3 separate regions of the Homo sapiens genome follow, and all the other regions are linked to region 3. Evidence: promoter capture Hi-C in 16 types of primary human blood cells and fetal thymus (Javierre and others, 2016). All regions are on one chromosome and are shown on one strand. The core of a region is centred on a gene start or on the middle of the fragment in contact, and the rest is flanking DNA. Distances in the headings are between cores, read along the strand shown.

What was found. Contacts are between HindIII fragments. The CHiCAGO score rates a contact against its expected background, and 5 or more counts as called.
Region 1: a contact is called between a fragment that was not itself captured here and the fragment with the promoter of MMP8 in region 3, in 3 of 17 cell types (M0 macrophages, M1 macrophages and monocytes). The highest score is 6.5, in M0 macrophages.
Region 2: a fragment that was not itself captured here is called in contact with the fragment with the promoter of MMP8 in region 3 in 2 of 17 cell types (M1 macrophages and M0 macrophages); the score reaches 6.4 in M1 macrophages.

The regions. Positions count from the first base shown.
Region 1 is chr11:102,401,070-102,403,796 of GRCh38, reverse strand. TMEM123 (transmembrane protein 123) reads left to right here. Exons shown (of 5, transcript NM_052932.3): 3 at 1,591-1,881; 4 at 2,105-2,258. Among named protein-coding and RNA genes, the nearest start is that of TMEM123, 50 kb to the left of the region's middle. The HindIII fragment of the contact is 2,140 bases long and covers 286-2,425 here.
Region 2 is chr11:102,427,195-102,429,894 of GRCh38, reverse strand. The region is part of intron 2 of TMEM123 (transmembrane protein 123); the gene reads left to right. Among named protein-coding and RNA genes, the nearest start is that of TMEM123, 24 kb to the left of the region's middle. RefSeq lists an enhancer at 76-135 and a silencer at 760-937. The HindIII fragment of the contact is 3,918 bases long and covers 1-2,700 here.
Region 3 is chr11:102,723,513-102,726,212 of GRCh38, reverse strand. It overlaps MMP8 (matrix metallopeptidase 8), which reads left to right and starts at 1,259. Exons shown (of 10, transcript NM_002424.3): 1 at 1,259-1,459. The coding sequence starts at 1,358. RefSeq lists an enhancer at 853-2,052. The HindIII fragment of the contact is 5,644 bases long and covers 1-2,700 here.

The DNA.
Region 1 (2,727 bases), core at 106-2,605, 320 kb after region 3:
TTTGCCAGAATGAGAACTCACTCACTACCACGTGAAGGGCATCAAGCCATTTATGAGGGATCTGCCCCCATGATCCAGACAACTCCCACTAGGCCCCACCTCCCAAGACCGCCACATTGGAGATCAAATTTCAATATGAGTTTTGATAGGGACAAACAAACCAAATCCAAACCATAGCAGTAGGCAACATAGGAAACCAAAAAACCTGAAAATAAACTATGAGACAGGAAATGAATACAGAAATATATTACATCATATTAAATGGACAAAGACATATTAAAAGCTTTCATTCCCTAGACATTGTATCCTAATAGGTACCTATAGTTGTAAACGTTAGTTAAATTGTCGTGTTAAAAAGAAGATGCAGTATGAAATAAAATTAACACAGAAAGGTTTGCTTCTGGTTATAGGCCATATTTTATGCAAAAAGAAGGAAACCTTTGCTGGATGAAAACAAAAGTAATCGAAGTTTATTTTAAGGAGTATTGGCCGGGCACGGTGGCTCATGCCTGTGATCCCAGCACTTGGGGAAGCTGAGGCGAGCAGATCACTTGAAGTCAGGAGTTCAAGACCAGCCTGGCCAACATGGTAAAACCTTGTCTCTACTAAAAATACAAAAATTAGCCAGCATGGTAGCAGGCACCTGTAATCCCAGCTACTCAGGAGGTCAAGGCAGGAGAATCACTTGGACCCAGGAGGCGGAGGTTGCATTGAGCCGAGATCTTGACACTGCACTTCAGCCTGGGTGACAGAGTGAAACTCCATCTCAAAAAACAAAAAAGAAGTTAAGGAGCATTAACAAGATCTGTACCTATATGTTTCTGTTTACATTATACCCCCCAAAAAAGAAAAACTCAGTTGCAGGTATGAGCAAAGGTATTGTTTGAGTTGTGTATTTTAAATCACTAATTTTTCTTTTCATACAAAATTGGCTTTTGGACTTGTAAAACTTTCACAGATAGTTTTAGAACTGTCCTTCCAACTATGGGAAATTATTATTACCAGTATGACAGCTAGCCACATTCTGTGATGGTATCTCACTTCCTAATGCATAGTGGGAAGTTGGCTTTACTTTTACAAAAAATAACTCACTTGGACTTCCCATTCTACCAGGAGGGTTAGAAACATGCAGCTACTGATTTATTGTCCTCAAAGCCCCTTGGAAGGTATAGCAGAGAACTGGAAATTTAAAAACCATTTTTATATTCATTAGTTTATCCATCCATTCAACAGATATTTGTTGAAAGCCTATTATGTGATATGAAATACGTTGAGATGTTCAGACAGAGATGATTAAGACATGTCCCTGCACTGAGGGAACTCTGTCTTCTGGGTTGTTTTTTTTTTTCTTCATATCTTCCCCAAAATTTCTAACTTTATATAAATTTAGACTTGGTTTCTGTTGAGTCTTTTACTAGTTTGAGACATTTTATTGCAGTATAGTGCAAAGTATTAATGGGCTAAGTATGTTAAATGCTGCTGTATTTGTAAGATCTCTTGCTTTGTCTGTGACCATGAAAGTCTCAGTGAAATGGGATCTTATTCCCTAAATCATAGCTCTGGTTTTAATGTTTCTTGATATTATTGCAGAGACTCTCCAACATGTGCCTTCTGACCATACAAATGAAACTTCCAACAGTACTGTGAAACCACCAACTTCAGTTGCCTCAGACTCCAGTAATACAACGGTCACCACCATGAAACCTACAGCGGCATCTAATACAACAACACCAGGGATGGTCTCAACAAATATGACTTCTACCACCTTAAAGTCTACACCCAAAACAACAAGTGTTTCACAGAACACATCTCAGATATCAACATCCACAATGACCGTAACCCACAATAGTTCAGTGACATCTGCTGCTTCATCAGTAACAAGTATGTATTAAAGCTGACCTTTTTTTTCCTATGCTGCAAGTAGTTAAATGCCACATTTAAGTCATTATTCTGTCTGGCAAAAATAATATAGAAACTTTATATGCCTAGATTTCCCTTAATTCCTAATTAAATGTTCTTAACACAGAAAATCAGAGAGCTTTAATTACAATGTTAAAAAAAAAAAAATAACGCTAAAGCCCTTTTTTGTTTTCTTTTGTTCTAGTCACAACAACTATGCATTCTGAAGCAAAGAAAGGATCAAAATTTGATACTGGGAGCTTTGTTGGTGGTATTGTATTAACGCTGGGAGTTTTATCTATTCTTTACATTGGATGCAAAATGTATTACTCAAGAAGAGGCATTCGGTATCGAACCATGTAAGTTTTGAATGGCCAGGACTTTTTAAAAAAAATTGTTGGTGCACATCTTTAATTATGATAGAATATCAAGCCAGTGCTCATCTCAGGGATGAATAATTGATAGATTTATGAGTTATATTCCCATTAACCCTTTTGGCCCAAAGTAAATTGTTTATGTACAAGCTTGTGATTATAATTATTTGCAAATGAAAATGGATGTATATACTTAAAAAAATGTATTTTACTAGTGTCAAACACACTTTACAGGAGACCAAAGTTAACCTACCCTGAAATTTTCACTTACTCATACCAATAATCGTAAGAAATACCAGTTCCCAGCAGGCTTTTGACTTAGTATGTCTGTGTCTGTTGTGGTACTAAATAGCATCCTTGGTAAAACCATGGCTTTTGTTTTCCACGACAAAGACAAAAAAAATTCCTCTGACAGCCTCATTATCCCTGAAAATTTAAATGAGTGGTTAGTATA
Region 2 (2,700 bases), core at 95-2,594, 300 kb after region 3:
GGCAAGGCAGGAGCATCTGTGCTTCTGCTGACATAAAAGAGGGTAATAAAAGTGACACAGGAAAGCGGTGTTGTGAGGCTTTAGTGATGGTGGAGCAGTGTTGCTGAAGTCCCTCAGGGAGTTTGGATTTGATTGCAGTGAGTCTGGCTACATCTGAAGCCTATAATAGTTTACAGTACAAGATGCTATGTATAAGATGTCAAACATTTGCTTGGTAGAATGCTATGATTGTCAGGAGTTTACTTTTGCACTGAAAATAGTCTTGTTGGTTTGGTGTAAGTAGAGTCACATTGCAGCACACACACAGGCATTCATGCTTTTATGTTTGTTAATTGTAAGGAAATGTTTTCTCAAGGCAAGAGTCAAAGGTTAGCAGAGTGCCAAAGACCTTCTCAAAGAGGAAAGTCTCATTTTAGAAACTTCATTTTGTACGCCAAAACTTGCCTTTCAGTAGTCTCATGTAATGTTTTTGCTGACATGAGTTGAAAAGTGCATTCTGTTGTAAAGGAGGAAAAAAACTGAAGAGGAACCGTAAGCGTGATTATGAAGAAGAGAAAAGAGCAGGAAGAAAGTAGACATCATCCCAGATTTAAATTTCATATTGTTAAAATCATTTGGTTGCAAGCAGTAGAAATTTTCTATAACTAACTTAGATAAACAAGGACTTGTTGGACACCTGCTGTCCAACATTCACAAAACCTAAAGAAGAAAACTGAACTAGATCTAGTGTGGCTAGGGATTTCAGGGACAGGAATTAACAAATCTCCTGAGGAGGCTGCCATCAAAATGACTGTGTTAACTGTTGTCCATCCTGGTGTATTCTACTCACATTTCAGACTCCTGCGAGAGGCTGATTGACCTGGTTTGAATCTCGTGCCTACCCACTCGTAGTCCCTCCAGACCCCAGGGGGTGAGCGAAGGGTGTTTGCCTGAAGGAAGAGTGGAACAGGAGCTGGGCAGGGAAAAAAGAACAGATGTTCATTCTACTGGCCACATAGCCACAGTCAGTGGTAATGATTTTCCCTGGCCAGACTTGGTGGCCAGTAGTTACTAGTCTCCTTTCTCTTCAGAAACATCTGCTCTTGTCAGAGTTATAGCCTATTCTTGATGAGCTGCAGCAAAAATGTACCACTTAAATTGGAGATGGATCATTTCCTGAGGATCTCAGAATATCTTTTTCAGTTAGCTTTATAAAGTAATTGTCCAGATGGCCATTTAATTTGTGATATGGGATAAAGTAATCTAGGGGAAAAAACACTTCTTTAAAATGACTTTTTTTTTTTGGGGGGGCCGGGCACACTGGCTTACACCTGTAATCCCAGCACTTTGCGAGGCCAAGCTGGGTGGATCACCTGGGGTCAGGAGTTCGAGAGCAGCCTGGCCAACATGGCAAAACCCCGTCTCTACTAAAAAATAAAAAAAAAAAAAAGCTGGGTGTGGTGGCAGGCACCTGTAATCCCAGCTACTTGGGAGGCTGAGGCAGGAGAATTGCTTAAACCCTGGAGGTGGAGGTTGCAGTGAGCTGAGATTGTGCCACTGTACTCCAGCCTGGGTGACAGAGTGAGACTCCATCTCAAAAAAATAAAATAAAATGACTTTTTTTAAATTGTGAAGAATATAGGTTAAGATTATATTGCAGTAGTAACGTAATAATATATTCAGGATAAAAAATTGAAGTTAGATCTGAAATATCAACATCCTAAACTAAGAAAAACCTTTTAAATTAATGTACTCTTGTTTTTTTCTTCTTAGCTAATAGTAAATAACGATAGACTCACACTCCCAGGAAGGGTGAGGAAGGGACAATTCAGACCTCTCTAGACTCCATGCATGGCCTGGTTAAATCACTTTTTTTTATCAGCATCTCATTTTTCCTTCCAGCAAGTTTATATCCTCATTGAGGAAGAGTGTCTTGCCAGAAGATTATTGTGATAATTTTTATAAGATATGTATATTCTTTTCTGAATCTCAGAGTAAATATTCTTTGTCTTCCTAAATGAACTGGTAGAATGTTTACATTTTCATTCTATTTCTGTAGAATTTTTTTTTTTTTAATTGAAACAGAGTCTTGCTCTGTTGCCCAGGCTGGAGTGCAGTGGCGCGATCTCGGCTCACTGCAACCTCTGCCTCCCGGGTTCCAGTGATTCTCCTGCCTCAGCCTCCCTAGTAGCTGGGACTACAGGTGTGTACCACCACGCCTGGCTAATTTGTGTGTTTTTTAGTAGAGACAGGGTTTCACCGTATTGGCCAGGCTGGTCTCGAAATGCTGACCTCGTGATCCACCTGCCTCAGCCTCCCGAAGTGCTGGGATTACAGACATCAGCCACCGCACCCAGCCATTTCCGTAGAATTTATAGCCTCCCTGTTGCAGTGAGCTGAGATTGTGCCACTGCACTCCAGCCTGGGCGACAGAGTGAGACTCTGTCTCCAAAAAAAAAAAAAAAAAAGAATTTATACCCTCCCTATTTCTTCTCTCCCACTTCTGCCTTCTCTTCCACTTCTGCCTTCTCCCCTTGTTCCTCATAGTCCTTGGGCATGTGCTACTTCAGCAGAGACCTGGGTCCTCTTTTGTGAAATTCAGTCAACAAAAAGCTCAAGGAACAAGTTAAGACTGAAGACTGATCGAGTTCATGTAAGTGTGGTAGGATTGCATGGTGCCATTTGATATTAAAAGGCATGTATTGTTTAAGAAACTAAACA
Region 3 (2,700 bases), core at 10-2,509:
CAAAGTTCCTAAGTGACCTCAGGAAAGATCAGAACTCCTTATCATAGCATCTCAAATACACTCTTTACATATTAATACATGCTATGTATCATACATGTAGACACATGCATTTATACACAAGAATACCTGCCTTTACCAAATATGTATGCATATATGTAAATGAGTATTCACAAAGACTGTGTATGATAACAAACTACATGCATGTGGACTCAGAATAAGTGGGACCAGGTTACATGATTTGAAAAGCATGCCCAGGGGCCTCTGACAAACAGTCTCCTATGTAGCCATATTGTCTGGAAATCTCTCAGTGTCTTACTCCTTGAAGATGTACAACATCTCATTCTCCCTCTCCCTTGTCTTCTGCCTGTGAATATAAGCCAAAGTATCCAGCTGTTGAAGGCCTAGAGCTGCTGCTCCACTATGGCCCAGCCAGAGACTCAAGTGGGAGACTACCATGCAGAGCTTATAGTAGCTCCCAGCTCAGTCTCTCTAAACATACCCTCTGGGGTTGAATCCTGGCCCCTCCACAAATGAAACATGTGACTTAAACAGGTCATCTAAATGTCTCTGGATTTGATTTCATCTGTAAAATGGAGATAGTAATAGCATCTCCCTCCCAAGGCTATGTGAAGATGGATTGGGGTAATATGTGGAACACAGTACAAATGTCTGGGCAATCATAATTTTTTAGCAAATGTTCATTATTATCATCATCAGTATTGTTCTCTTTATCTTTTCCATGGAAAGTCTAACTTATAGACTAGGGATTTTCTAATATGTTGATACCAAACCACATCCTCCAGAAGCAGCTCTAGGCCCCATACAAAGCCTGCTTTGTAATAACACAGTCACTCATTCTCTCCACATACAATGAGGGAGGGTAAGTACAGAGATTCTCTAGTTGGGCTCCTTGGTCCCAAGATATCTACCACAAACCTCAAAATATTCCCCTGCATAAGTTAATTCAACCTCAACATCTTACATAGTCAAAAAATGTATCCACATAACTTCAGGATTAGTCCCTTGTTCCTTTTCCTCAACCAATTTTGTAAAAGGAAATAACTAAAACATCCAAAAGCAAAGAGTAGAAAGTTGGAGTTTTGAAAGACTGTTGAAAGACTCCCCCATTTGGGGGTACTAAATCACATTATAAAATTGCAAAACTGTCAGAGTGTAATTAACCTATGTTGCTTCATATTCCTGATGCAGCAATTGTTTAAGACATGGCTTTAAAGAGGACTGCAAGAGAGCTGTGAGTGACACATGATGCTGTGAACGTCAGGGTGCTCGCCAGGGAAGGGCCCTACCCAGAGGGACAGAAAGAAAGCCAGGAGGGGTAGAGTTTGAAGAGAAGATCATGTTCTCCCTGAAGACGCTTCCATTTCTGCTCTTACTCCATGTGCAGATTTCCAAGGCCTTTCCTGTATCTTCTAAAGAGAAAAATACAAAAACTGTTCAGGTAAATGAACTATCAGTTAGGTGATGTTTGATTTGCTGATTATTAGGAAATAGTGTGGGTTGTTTTCTCTTGTTAATTAAAACAGCCTGAAAGAAATTATTTGGGTGATTAGTTTGAGATTGAACATCTCCTTTTAGTGATTTGGAGGGTTCCAAGCTGGTAAGGACTAGGCCTTTTAAAAGCCGGACATGAAAACAAGCTGAATTCTTTAAAGGCTGGGAAAATACTGCTGTAGAGTTACCCCTAGTTGGGAAACTTTTGTAGAAGAAATGGTTTTATTTATAAAATGGTATCATTTTCTTTCTCATTTACCTAAGGTTTTTCCTTCCAGGATATCTGCAATCAAGTTACTATATGTCTGGTGCTTCCATACAGGCATTTTCTTTGCCGCCAAAAATTCCAGATATAGAAAATAATGTGAGGATGGTAGATTACAATGAACTAGAAATCAGTACACAGTAAAATCATATTTCCCAGCATCAGATTGTGGACTGTTTATAAACTCTTGGAAGCATTATAAAAGCAGAACCAATAGTTTTTTTCCATTGTTTCACAGTCTGAAAGTGAACCCAAATTTTTAAGAAACACAAGGGAATTCTGTCACAAATCTCTCATGCACAGTTTTCTTAGCATTATAGTTTGGAGAAAGCATTATTATTATTAAGAGGTTATCTCTTAATTGTAACCCCCGGGTTAATGTAAAGTCCATTGAGTGCTTATTCTATGCAAGGCAACTGCTACACATTTCACAAATATCTCATTTAATCCTCACAAGAACCTTATTGGAGCATTATTATTTTCATTTCAGAGACAAAAATATCTTAAATCAGATAAATAATGTGGCCAAGTGCTCACAGTTAATTCATGGCAGAGTTAAGATTTGAACCCAGGCCTGTCTGATTCCAAAGCGTGTGATCTGGTCAGTGTCACCTACTGCTGTGGTTAGAGTGTGTCCCTTGAATTTATGTGTTAAAGATTTAGTAGCCCATGTGACAGTGGGTCCTTTAAGAAGTACTTAGGTCATTAAGAAAGATTAATGACACTCTTGTGTGACTGGATTAATTTTTGCTGGAGTGGGTTCTGGCTCTTGCAGAACTGGATTAGTAATTAATAGAATGGGTATTATAAAGAGGGGCTGCCCTTTGTGTTTTGCCCCTTTTCACACATGCTTGCTCCCCTTTTGTTTCTCTGCCATGTTATGACACAGCACAAGGCCATCTCAGAAGCCAACCAGATGCAGC